Linked DNA regions of Homo sapiens: region 2 is linked to region 1. The links are contacts of gene promoters, found by promoter capture Hi-C in human tissues and cell types (Jung and others, 2019). All regions are on one chromosome and are shown on one strand. The core of a region is centred on a gene start or on the middle of the fragment in contact, and the rest is flanking DNA. Distances in the headings are between cores, read along the strand shown. Region 1 holds the start of MTA2 (metastasis associated 1 family member 2). Region 2 overlaps FADS1 (fatty acid desaturase 1).

Region 1 (6,245 bases), core at 3,697-6,196:
GTGGCTCACACCCATAATCCCAGCACTTTGGGAAGCGGAGGCGGGCAGATCACGAGGTCAGGAGATCGAGATCATCCTGGCTAAAACGGTGAAACCCCGTCTCTACTAAAAATACAAAAAATTAGCCAGGCGTGGTGGCGGGTGCCTGTAGTCCCAGCTATTCGGGAGGCTGAGGCAGGAGAGTGGTGTGAACCCGGGAGGCGGAGCTTGCAGTGAGCTGAGATTGCGCCACTGCACTCCAGCCTGGGCGACAGAGCAAGACTCCTCTCAAAACAAAACAAAACAAACAAAAAAAAAACACTCCCACTCCCTCAGAGATACCCTCCTCTTCTGTTCCCAGGCTCTGCAAGTCCCCAGAAAACCCAGCCTGCCCAACTACCCACCAACTTCTGCTCACCAGAGTGATATCTCGGGAGGCAGCAGCTGCACTCATGTGCAAGCTTGGCTGCCGAATGGAGCTGCTACAATCTAGGGCTCTTGCAAAGGTTCCCACAGCTCTAAGGGAGAAATTGAGAAGTCAAAAGCGAAAGAAAAGTCAAAAGCCCAAGTGGGCTGGGAAATTAAGCCAAAGGAGAAAGAAGGAAAACATCCATGGCAATGAAAGAAATAAAGTCCATCTCTAAGAACCATGGGACTCAGAACAATGTCCACACCTCCCCCAGCCCATCTTCCCTATCCACCCACCCCTCACCGGGCCACCACAAGAAACTGGTCGATCTGCCGGTCTGTGAGAGGGTTGTCTGGGTCCCAGACCTTCATCTCCATCTTCTGCTGGTTCCGATTATCAGATTCTCCTGGGGAAAAGAACAATGGCATCAACAGGGAGAGGGCAGGGGGGAACAGTTGGTGTCTTTTCATTCACAATAGCACCTCCTCCTTCTCTTCTTCTGCTTGGATTCTATCAACTCTCCGACTTCTCTTCCCAACTGTTCCCATTTTCCCTTTTCAGGTTCCTACAGGCCCATTCTGTCAGGGTCATGGCAGAGAGCCCTGCAGACAGTGCACTGCACAACCCCAGGTGACGCCATTCACAGAGACTATAATGTTAAAGTGCCCCTTGGAATTAGACAACCTGGTAGCCGTACAGTCTTGTCCTGTTGCTTACCCTCTACTAGGCGATCTGGGATCTCAGCTTGGTATTTGCAACCAACTCTAATCTCGCCCTGATCAGCGAGAAGTGTCTTCTGCACGGGGTCAAACACCAGTGAGTAAAAAAAGCAGTCCTGGAATTGGGGAGAGACAAGGTAAGCAAGGCAGCAATCCACATAGGCGGCGGGGAGGGAGGTGTATCTGAGTTTCCATGACCGGCAGTCTGGCAACCCTGTACCTCATCATTGTGCTCCTTTCCCCCTCTCTTTTGCGGGCAATACCCATTCCCCTCGCTCTTCTCTCAACATCTCTTTCTCACCTCCTTTTCCAGGTACTGGCTCAAGATATCTGTCTCATTCAAGAGGGTCACACTGCATTTCCCCCTATAGGAGAGAGATTGGAAAACCCCGGTGAGCCCCACTCTCCCTCCCCACAGCATCTCTCAATACCACCTCCTTCTCTCCATCTTCTACGTAAGTGCACGCAGGCTATGCTGGCCCCAGTTGTCCTGTACCGTATGTGGGTGGCTGGTAATGATTCAAATTGCCGAGAAAGAAAAAGTTCCCGGTGCTTCAGTTGATGGCGCTGCTGCTCAGACACCCCTGGCTGCTTTGATTCCTCTTCAAACTCCCCTGGGAGATTAAAGAGGAAGAAACCAAGTCAGAAATGGATCCAGCAAAACACCACCCTGGAAACTCTAACTCAGGGAAAATATTTCCTATCTTGGCTGTTTTTTTCTCACATTTCCCAGGCGTCTGCCTTCTATACCCTTATCCCACCAGCTTTCCTTCTTAGCTCTATGCCCCATCATAGATGCTCCCAACTCTATCAGTAATGCTTTTAGAGAAGAACTGCTGAGAGTACGAAGAATGCTCTAGAAATACATCGCTACCCAGCTGCCAGTACTCAGACACCAAAGTCCACAACGGGCCAGCAAGAACATCACACTTGTCTCTTGCTTGCTAAACCAGCCTGAGGTCCAGGAACTCAAGATGAAAAAATATCACACAAGACTGTGTTTACCAGTTCTTTTCAATTTCAGGAGACTCTTTGCTCTAAAACATCACATGCAGCCCTAACTATCCCTCATTTTCTACTTGGCTAATAATAGTTCCTGGGGTTTCCAAGGACAACACCTCTCAAGCCAGTGCCAACACCTTCCTCCCCAAGGAGCTGCAGCTTGCCCTGAAACCTAGCGGAAGGGGTTAACCTGGCTAGGCGCCAACCAAAGTGGGAGGGAGCAGAAGAACCTCAGCCCCAGGCTCATTGGTGTATTGTTCCCAACCTCAGGGAGAAGGGGGGGGTTGTGCAGTAGGCTCCACCCCTCGCTTGTGTGCTCCGGAAACCCTGTGCTGAGGCAAGGGGGACCACACCCCCAACACCCCTTCTGATTGGACAAGGCCAAGGTCAGCCCCTGCCAGATGGGGCTGGAAACCCTAAAGGGCCAAGGAACTTGGTAAGCTGGGCTCCTCTTTAACCCCTTCTCACCCAGAGCAGTCTGAAAAAGGAAAATAATTTAGAAAGGTGGAACAAAAGGAAGGAAAAAGAAAACCAAAGCAGGAAAGGAAAAAGAAGCTAAGGAAAATATGTTTTTTAAAAAAAGAAGATGAGACCTTAAAGAGAATGAAGATAGGGCAAAATGAAAAGGGAAAGATGTAAAATGGAGGGGGGCGGGCGGGGAAATGGGCGAGGTGAGAAATTAAAAAGCGCAAGAAAACTTCCAGCCATCTTCTAACTTCCAGGTACTCTCATCACCTTGTGATTACAAAATAAGCCTGCTTCTCTGTTACGCAGGCTTCTCAGTACAATGTCTTCCTCTTCACGTTGACCTTCAGTCATCACCTACTGTCTCAATGTACCCCAAACTGCCCCCCTTTAGAAAACCATTGTTTCTCTAAAGCTCGTCCTCATACTCTAAATGTTATCATCTCTCTCTTACTCTCATATACAAACCATATTATCGCTTTCCTTATCACAATCTCTCCACCCTGCTTCCAACCCCAACATGTAAAAACAGGCCTCCCTCCTCAGGCCAGGCATTTCCCACCCCCAAACTCACACCTCTGCCTTGGGCATGCTACCAGGGGAAATACCTGCAGGGACATGCCCAGGCCTCAGATCATGGGTAGGAGAAAAAGAAAGGGAGGAAGATACTCACTGGCATTACTATCAGCCAGGCTGTTGAGGCTACTAGAAATGTCCCTGCGCCGGAAAAGACAGACAACCTTTGCCTCCACATTTCCATTTGCAGTCTAAGGGGAGGAAAAAAACAAAAACAAAACAACGTAGCAGTGGAAATTGATCATCTGGGAACAGAAATGCACAAAGAGACAAATAACAGTAAGTTTCAGAGGGACCTAAATTAAAAAGCCCAAGAAAATATGAGTAAAGACTTACATTCAAGGATAGACTTCCAAATCCCTTTCCTTTGCCCCCAAGAGACAGAATAGTAAAGTTCCTGCTAACCTCTCAATAGCCTTTCCTGAATACATCCAATGAATGAATGAACGAATATGAATGGGTACTTAGTATAGGATCCTCTCTTCCACCAGAAGTTAGAAACCTCAGAAGAGACCACTGCGGGAGGGAGGGAGAGGGATTCTGCTCCACTCACCTTGTTGAGCTCCTCAATCCGTCTAACCAGGTAAGGATTGCTGGAAGAGTTCTCAAAATAGACGTAATCTGTAAGGGAAGGGAGGGGGGAGAACCACGAAGATCAGAGGAGATGGGAGACGCAGAGCACCAGGGTAGGAGAGAAAGTTGGCCTGAGTGGATCAAAAGGAGATAAGGATTCAGGTAGAAAGGGCGCTGAGATGTGAAAGTGGACAGACTAAGAGAAAATAAGGATGTCCCCCATCCCCACCGCACCTAGTTCTAAAATTAGATCCTTTACTCAAAAGAGAGCCTTAAGGAACAGGCAAGAAGCAGGGGTTCCCCTGCAGTCCCCACAACTCAGCGATGAGTTGCACCCCAGTCGCGGCGAAGTAATTGTCCGCTCTAGCGCAGGGCCCCTACCTTTTCGAATCGAGGCGCACAATAACGCCTGGGAAGAGGAAACCTCCGGGCGGCTCCCCCGCGGTGGCAAAGCCGTCGCCCCAGCCCCTCGCGTTCCCTCCCTACCCTGTCAGCTCCTTCGGAACCGGTTCCGAAGGCCACTCCGTGCCCCGGGGAGCCCCTGACGCAGCCCCGAAAGTGCCGTCGGGGCTGCCCGCAGCTTCTCTCTGGGAGTCTCGGAGCCCTGCCGCGTCGCGGTTCCCCGCACCCTCTCTCCTCGTCTCCCGGTTCCGGTTCCGGTCCGCGCTCCGGTCCACGCTGCCCCATACGCTGCGCCTCGCGCCACCCGGTGCCGAGCCCCTCAGGTCCCTACCCCAACCTCTCCCGCCCCGGGCCCCGTATCCCTGCGCCCGGTACTCACCTCCCACCCGGTACATGTTGGCCGCCATGGCCGTTCCCGCCGCCGCCTCCGGCCGCACAAAGGGGTCCGGGAGGCTCGCGGGGGCAGGGCTCGGCTCGAGGCAAAGCCCCGAACGGTGGGCTGCCGCTTCGAGGGAGTCTCACTGGGGCCCGCGCAGCCGGCACCTCCGCTGCCTCAGCCGTCGCGGTTCATCCCGGCCCGCGCTGTCGCCGCCGCAGCTATCGCCTCACTCCCGGGACGCTGAGGCTGGCCCCCGTCCGCTCGGCTTCTTCCGGAACGAGCTCGGCTCCTGCCAGGCCAGAGCCAGGCTCCAGCTACCCCCGCCCCCGCGGAGTCCCACTAGTCGTTGGGCTCTGCCGGCCGCAGGGAAGGCTTGCCGGGCCCGCCTCAGGGTTCGCCTCCTTCCGGAACACCTTCGGCCGATCCGGAGAACAAGGCCCACTGCTCGGCTCAGGTCGGAGAGCGAGACCCCGCAGATCGGCTACTTCCGGAAGAAGTTCGGCTCCTGTCGGGCAACCGCTCGGCTATTTCCGTCGCAGCTCGGCCCCACCCCCTTTTCCGAGGGCGGGAGAGGAGTCGGGCTTAACTCTGTCCTCGCTGGAGCCCTGCAGCTCCTCCTCGCGCCCCAAAGACTCGCGCGCCTTAGCGCTTCGCCAGGTTATTTGCAAGCGGCTTTGCCTGTCATTTGCATAAATGGTCTACGCTCCCTTACCCTTTCCGCACGCCTCTTTTCCTTCGTCCCCACCCCACAGAGCCCCGGAGGCGCCCGGCAGCGCCCCACAAAAGCACCGGGAGGCGACTTTGGTTCTGGTTTATTGCCCCTCAGCAGGCAGCGGGAGTCAAGGCCTAGGCTGGGGCTGCCCGGCTCAGCCAGCGGGTCTAAACAGTGTGTGCAGGGGCGCCGTTCGCGCCCTCCAGGAAAATGCGCGATCGGGAATGTCTCGAAGTCAGTCCAGGAAAGAGTCGGCCCCTAGTCGTGGGGGATTGGGCCAGGGAAGGGCAGGGCGGGGCGGGGCCACGCCGCCGGGCCAGTCGGTCCCGCCAGGCAGCGATCAAACGTCGAGGGAGGAGGCGGGGGACAGGGAGGGGGTTCGAGAGGGCGTGGCGGGCGCCGGCCCCGCGCCCCCAGCGCCCAGCACTCGCCACTGGAAGATGCTGGCGTCCTTGCCGCCCAGCGAGACGAGGTGCGAGTCGTCGTGCGTGAATCGGACGCTGGTCACGTGGCTGCCGTGGCCCCCGTACATGCGGCTCGGCGCCTGGGCCGGAGGGAAGAGTTGCGGTGGCGGCTGAGCCCTCGGGCCCACCGGTCCCACCCCGGCGATCCCCGCGGCCTCACCTTGGCACGAGCGCACGGGTACTGGAAGAGATGCACTTTGCAGAAGTCGTCGGCCACCGCCACCACGCGCTCGTTGTGGGAGCGGCACAGGGAGTTGATGTCGGTCCCATCGGAGCCGTCCGGCCAGACGCCTAGCACAGCGGCCGGCCTCAGCCCGACCTCCTACCCACCGCCACCCACGGCCCAGAGCTACACCATTTCAGGCGCTCCGGCAGCCGCGGCCACCCACTGCCGCGTTCCAGGCAAGCCTTCCCGGTCCCGAGGGGCCTCCTGGGCTGGATCTTCAGGTTTCTGGACTCTCACCCAACGACACACGCCCAGCGTTCCAAGCCCAAACTGGGCTCCACCTTGTCCCCCACCCTTCCAGCAGGTTTCCACGCCCCTGCTCACCGTAGACGTGAAAGC
Region 2 (6,299 bases), core at 3,656-6,155, 790 kb before region 1:
GCCAGCTATGAGGCTGAGGATGGGCTGCCTGTTAGTGAATGCCTGGGCAATAGGCTGCTTGGTTCCATCCCTCTGGGGATGTTGATGCCTGTGCTGACCCCATGACATCCACGTCAGTGCCTCCCAAAATTTTTGGAGGACAAGGAGGGGCAGGGGACACTGCCCTAAATAGAACCCTTCTGACCACCAAGGGTCTAAACATAATGGGACAAGTTATAGGGATCATAAAGGCATTTGCCATTCAAGGAGGAAGCAATGGATGGGGCTCCTTTCCATAACAGTTCCACAATAGGAAGCCCCCAAGCAAGGGCGCCCCTTTTTCAATTTTTTCCTCAGTTAATGTTGCTCGAGATGGGGTGATTCTCACCACCACATCCAGGTCCTCAGCAAGCGTTGCTTACACTGCCTCCAAAACATATCCCAAATCCATTGGCTTCACCTGCTCCTCCGTGGTCTGGTCTGGACTCGCTCCAGCCGCCTCACTGAGGTTATATCTGTGATTATACCTACCCTCTATAATTCATCCTCTCCACCTCCAGCCAGAGCAAGCCTTTTAAAGTGCAAAGCAGATTGCTGTACCCACCAGAAACCCTCCTGTGACTCCCCATTGCTATTGGAATAAAACCCAAACTTCTTACCACACCCTTACCATGGCTTTCTAAGGCCCTACATGATCTGGCCCCTCCCTAGTTTTCTGGTCTTCTCATTCTCTCATTGCTTACTGTCCCTGAACATCCGGGAGCCTCTGTACTTGACTGTTCTCTCTGTTCCAAATGTTCCTTCCCTGAATTTTTGCAGTGTTGGCCCTTTTCATCATTCAGGTCTCAGTTCAGATGTCGGCACCCGAAGGAGGCCATATCTGATCATGACTACCTCTCAGTTTCTGTCATATTTTACTGTTTTTAATCTGTAAGTTACGTTGAACTCTGTTTACAATTTTTTTTTGGTTTTAATCTTTTTAAAAAATTATTATTTTTACACACAGGGTTGCGCTGTTACCCAGGCTGGAGTGCAGTGGCGTGATCATACTCACTGCAGCCTTCACCTCCTGGGCTCAAGCGATGCTCCCACCTCAGCCTCCCAAGTAGCTGGGACCACAGGCACATGCCAACTGCGTCCCTTCATTCTCTGTTTTTGATGTCTGCTGATAGGAATTTCCTGAAAACCCAAGTACCAAGAAGCAATAAAGGTAGTGGTGTGAGACTGTTCCCTTCCACTTAACCTGCCCATGTCTTTTTTTTAAACCCTCTGTAGTGACAGTAGAAATGCACAAGCCCCATGCCACTGCCCAGCAAATAACCACACTGCCCTTGAAGCAGCCATGGGAGTCAGACGGGGGACAGGGCTGCTTCGTCATCTGCATAGTACTGACCATAATGGTATCGGACATGTAACAAACCCAAGTCCATGCTCATGATGGGAAAATAAGAACATTATGGACAGGTGGGGCATGAGCCTCAAGCTATGAGCTCCTCATGCCAGGCCAACCAGTGCTGCCAAAGCCCTTTCAAAGTTCTCATGGCCAGGGGCGAGAGGAACGCCAGGCTACCTTGAACTCATGCCTAGAACTGAAATGTGTTTTAACGACAATTTAATTCCTCGCAAGCTGAAATGTCACAAAGTGGAGGAGGTGGACCTGGAAGAACTCTGCAGCCTACAGCCTTGGGACAAAGGGCTTTAAATGAACTTTTCAAAGAATTCTGCTGGCCTTTTAGAACCTTCCATTGCCTAATGCTCACTAAAAGCTCACCAGATCTCCACCCCCAGGCATTATTCCTTCAGCAGCTACATTATTTCTGCTTACAACTTCAGACGACATCTCAAACCCAACGCTGACCACCCAGGAAATCAGGCTGGGGATCAGCAGGGTGGGAAGAAGTACTCAGTGAATGAATGTTCCAGATATTGGACATGAAAGAAGAGTAAGACAGTCCAGCCCTGGACAGAGAAGACTGTGACAAGAAGGATACCTAAGTGTGGGAGAGAAATACAAAGTGCAAGGGGAATACTTGCCTGGGGCAAGAGTGTCAAAAAAGCACCTCCAGGAGGTGCCATCAGCACCTTCAAGGATAGGCTATCTCATCATTTGGATCCTTCTGGTCATCCGCTGGATCCTTTGCAAAATGAGGTGCCTTTTATGCAGTAACGGTTTGCTGACTGAACTCTCTAGGGAGGATGGTGACTCCCTCCTGGGCAGCCCCCATCTATTGCCTGTTGCCTTCCAGAACTTCCAAAATGGCAAAAGCCCCAGCCAGCCCAGCCCCAGTGTCTTGCCCACACTGACAACATCGTGGGCATCTTCCCCAACTCCCCTATGTTGGCTGCCTCCTATTCCCCAAGACCTTTCCACTGATACCTCCACGCACCTCCACAGAGAGGATCTTCCCCAAGGCAAAGAAGAAGGGATGCATGTTGATGTCTGGGTCTTTGCGGAAGCAGTTGGGCTTGGCATGGTGCTGGAAGTGCATGTGGTTCCACCAACTGGCGGGGGCCCCCTACAGAAAAGCAGGGACACGAGTATGAAAAGCTTCCCCCAAGGCAGCCCTTCATTGCCTGGAGTTTTAGAGAGCTCCTCCCCATCCCACTGACCTTCAGGTGGCCAATCACAAAATGATGTAGCAGATGGTTCCACTTTGAGGTGCTGAAGACCGACAGGTGCCCAAAGTCATGCTGCAGCCAGCCAGCCTGGGCCTAGGTGAGAAGAGTCAACACTGAGAGCAGCCCACCAGCCCCAGTGTCGCCTTCACTGACCTCGATGCCTCCTTCAGCCTCTCCCACTTCCTTCATCTGCCAAGGCCTGTGATGCACCTCAGGAGTCAGGAAACATGGGTCCTAGTTCTGCCTCTGCCACTGACTCACACGTGAGTTGGGGCAAATCACCATCCCTTCTCTGTTCTTCTGTTTCGCCAGCTCCGAAGCTCATGACTTTTTTTTTTTGAGACAGTTTTGTTCTTGTTGCCCAGGCTGGAGTGCAATGGTGCGGTTTCAGATCACTGCAACCTCCGCCTCCTGGGTTCAAGTAATTCTCCTGCCTCAGCCTCCCAAGTAGCTGGGATTACAGGTGCCCGCCACCAAGCCTGGCTGATTTTTTTGTATTTTTAGTAAGAGTCGAGGTTTCACCATGTTAGCCAGGCTGGTCTCGAACTCCTGACCTCAGGTGATCTGCCCACCTTGGCCTCCCAAACTGCTGGGATAACAGGCGTGAGCCACCATACCTGGCCTGTTTTGAGAGTGTCGCTCTGTTGCCCAGGCTGGAGTGCAATGGTGCCAACTCGGCTCACTGCAACCTTCGCTTCCCAGGTTCAAGCAATTCTCCTGCCTCAGCCTCCCATGTAGCTGGGATTACAGGCACCCACCACCACTCCCAGCTAACTGTTGTATTTTAATAGAGACGGGGTTTCACCATGTTGGCCAGGTGGTCTTGAACTCCTCACCTCAAATGATCTGCCCATCTTGGCCTCCCAAGGTACTGGTATTACAGGCGTGAGCCACTGTGCCTGGCCTTTTTGTATTTTTAGTAGAGGTTTCACCACGTTGGCCAGGCTGGTCTTGAACTGAGATCAAGTGATCCGGCCACCTTGGCCTCCCAAAGTGCTAGGATTACAGACATGAGTCACCACACCTGGCCTGAAGCTCATGACTTATGATGGACTGACATCTAGAATACAGAAAGGACTGAAACATGAGCAGAAGGCTTGCCAAATGGGTCCTGACAGTCAAGAATTAGCGCTCAATCATTATTAACATATTGGGCAATGTCAGTGGTGGGGAGGGAGCCAAGCTTTGCTAAGAAACCAGAAACTTGGCTCCTGGCACAGGTGGGCTGTGGCAGAGAACAAACCGCATAGGAAGAAGAGAACCCTTGGAGAAGCAGCTAAAAAGGCAGTGAGAGAAATGAAGATGTCCATGTGGCTAAAGAGCAGACAGGTCAAGACAGCAGAATGCATGTTCCTGCACTCACTCCTGCATACCTTCAGATCTGCCCTGCTTGGAGGGCAGGCACTCTTGGCCTTCCTCAAACACCCAAGGAGCTTTCCCCAGGGATGCTGAGCATTGCTGTGCACTTGACAAGCCAAAGGCTCTCACCTGAACTGCACTGAGCAGCACCGCACAGAGGAGGAAGGGCAAAAAGGACGTCCCAAAGACCCAAAGGGTGAGCCAGGCTGCACCATCCAGCAGCAAGATGTGCAGCAGGTACAGCAGGAAGAAGACATGGTTGGCCTTCATGAGCCCCATCCGCTCCACTGTGGCCCGCAGCTCCCGGAACTCATCTGTCAGCTCTTTCTGCAGAAGAGGAAGAGGAGCTGTTATTCTTCTCATCTGCACCCCAATGCTACTGGAGACAAGGGCCCTCTCAGGCTCAAGGACCTCCCACTGAGGTAGCTGTGGGAAGTCCACAGTCCTAGGCAAAGATACCACGACAATGAGGATGACAGGAGGAGGTGCCATGGGATAGTGCCTAAGAGTTCAGGGGACTAAGTCCTTGCTCTGCCATTTACTAACTGTGTGATCCTTGGCTGTGTTGCTTAACCTCCCTGAGCCTGTTATCTCATCTGTAAATGTGTAAGAGTTATGAGTTTATGCTTGGTGCATAGTAAGTGCTCATATGATAACAATGATGATAACAATGATGGCAGCCATGGTAGTGGCAGCCTTGGGGGAGCCATAGGTTGCAAAGCCATGCTCCCTTGGGCCTGTGACCTCATGACTATGCAAGAGAAGCAGGGACCTCAAGACTCCCCAGAGCTACTACTGACTGTGATTACTATGACTGTGATCCCATCTAGACTCTCCTTCCACCCCCTCTCTGTCCCCCTCAACAACCAATAGTTGCGACATAGCAAACACAGGGTCTTACATTCTTGGTGGGCTCAAAGCTGGGCTGCTCTGGAGACAGTTCTCCAATCAGGAGAGAGTTCATATACTTCTTCACAAGGCCCTTGTTGATGTGGAAGGCCACAAAGGGATCCTGCAAGTGCCGGGAGAAGATGAAAGGTGAGGGAGCCAGCCCCCTGGACTCCGGCAGTGTTCGCACCAAAGGCCATCCTCCTGCCCGCCAGAAGGCTGTACCCAAGTTGAAGTGAGAGGTGAAGCCAGATGGACTTCCTGGGTCGAGTGCAGACTTGGAGAACTTTTCTGTAGCTAGAGGTTTGTAAAATGCACCAATCCGTGCTCTTTAGCTAGCTAGAGGTAAAATGGACCAATCAGCACCCTGTAAAATGGACCAATCAGTGCTCTATAAAATGGACAAATCAGCAGGACATGGGCAGGGACAAATAAGGGAATAAAAGCTGCTCCCGGCCGGGCGCGGTGGCTCACGCCTGTAATCCCAGCACTTTGGGAGGCCAAGGCGGGTGGATCACGAGGTCAGGAGATCGAGACCATCCTGGCTAACACAGTGAAACCCCGTCTCTACTAAAAATACAAAAAATTAGCCGGGCGAGGTAGCGGGCGCCTGTAGTCCCAGCTACTCGGGAGGCTGAGGCAGGAGAATGGCGTGAACCCCGGGGGAGGGCGGAGCCTGCAGTGAGCCGAGATCGCGCCACTGCACTCCAGCCTGGGCGACAGGGAGACTCCGTCTCAAAAAAAAAAAAAAAAAAAAAGGCTGCTCCCCCTCACACCCCCCAACGTCCAGCAGCGGCAACCTGCTCGGGTACCCTTCCACGCTGTGGAAGCTTTGTTCTTTGCTCTTCACAATAAATCTTGCTGCTGCTCACTCTTTGGGTCCACGCCACCTGTAAGAGCTGTAACACTCACCGCGAAGGTTCATGGCTTCATTCTTGACGTCAGCGAGACCACGAGCCCACCTGAAGGAACCAACTCCTGACACAGAAGCACAGGCCATCTCCCTAGGCCCAGCTGCCTTTTGAGGGTGCTCCCAGGTGTCCACAGTTTAAGATCACCGAGTATCTGCTCTAGTTAGAAGGATGCATCAAGGAATGGGAAGCATTGGCTGAGGGGAACCACTAAGAAACACCTGCCTGGGCTGGCCTTTCCCCTGGGTGTGTCCACAGACAGCTTTTGCCCAAGAATTTCAGTATAGGTGAGAAACAGGAGAGATGGGTGGGGCTGTGTCGGGCGTTGGTTCCTTCCGGCGGGTATGGTCTCACTGACTTCAAGAATGGAGCCGTGGACCTTCCCGCTGTTATAGCTCTTAAAGGAATAACACTCTTTGCAGACCCAAAGAATGAGCAGCAGCAAGGTTTAGTGTGACGAGCAAAAGAACAATGCTTCCACAGCCTGTAAGGGAACTGGAGCGGGTTGCAGCAGCTGGCTGGGGTGGCCAGCTTTTATTGTCT

Evidence for each region. The method cuts DNA at HindIII sites, captures the fragments that hold promoters and counts their contacts. A contact is called where the count stands out against the background at its distance.
Region 2: a contact is called between a fragment that was not itself captured here and the fragment with the promoter of MTA2 in region 1, in 1 of the 25 tissues and cell types used here (dorsolateral prefrontal cortex).

What each region holds. Positions count from the first base shown.
Region 1 is chr11:62,596,919-62,603,163 of GRCh38, forward strand. MTA2 (metastasis associated 1 family member 2) reads right to left here and starts at 4,947. Exons shown (of 18, transcript NM_004739.4): 1 at 4,505-4,947; 2 at 3,704-3,771; 3 at 3,248-3,341; 4 at 1,604-1,721; 5 at 1,409-1,472; 6 at 1,106-1,223; 7 at 692-794; 8 at 398-497. The coding sequence starts at 4,532. It overlaps EML3 (EMAP like 3), which reads right to left. Exons shown (of 22, transcript NM_153265.3): 20 at 6,231-6,245; 21 at 5,841-5,971; 22 at 5,300-5,760. The coding sequence ends at 5,557. RefSeq lists enhancers at 2,085-2,224, 3,818-4,528, 3,963-4,012, 5,393-5,442, 5,951-6,245 and silencers at 4,263-4,342, 4,423-4,522, 4,593-4,642. The HindIII fragment of the contact is 13,173 bases long and covers 1-6,245 here.
Region 2 is chr11:61,808,385-61,814,683 of GRCh38, forward strand. It overlaps FADS1 (fatty acid desaturase 1), which reads right to left. Exons shown (of 12, transcript NM_013402.7): 2 at 4,859-4,969; 3 at 4,087-4,284; 4 at 2,590-2,691; 5 at 2,367-2,495. Among named protein-coding and RNA genes, the nearest start is that of MIR1908, 3.7 kb to the right of the region's middle. The HindIII fragment of the contact is 3,503 bases long and covers 3,155-6,299 here.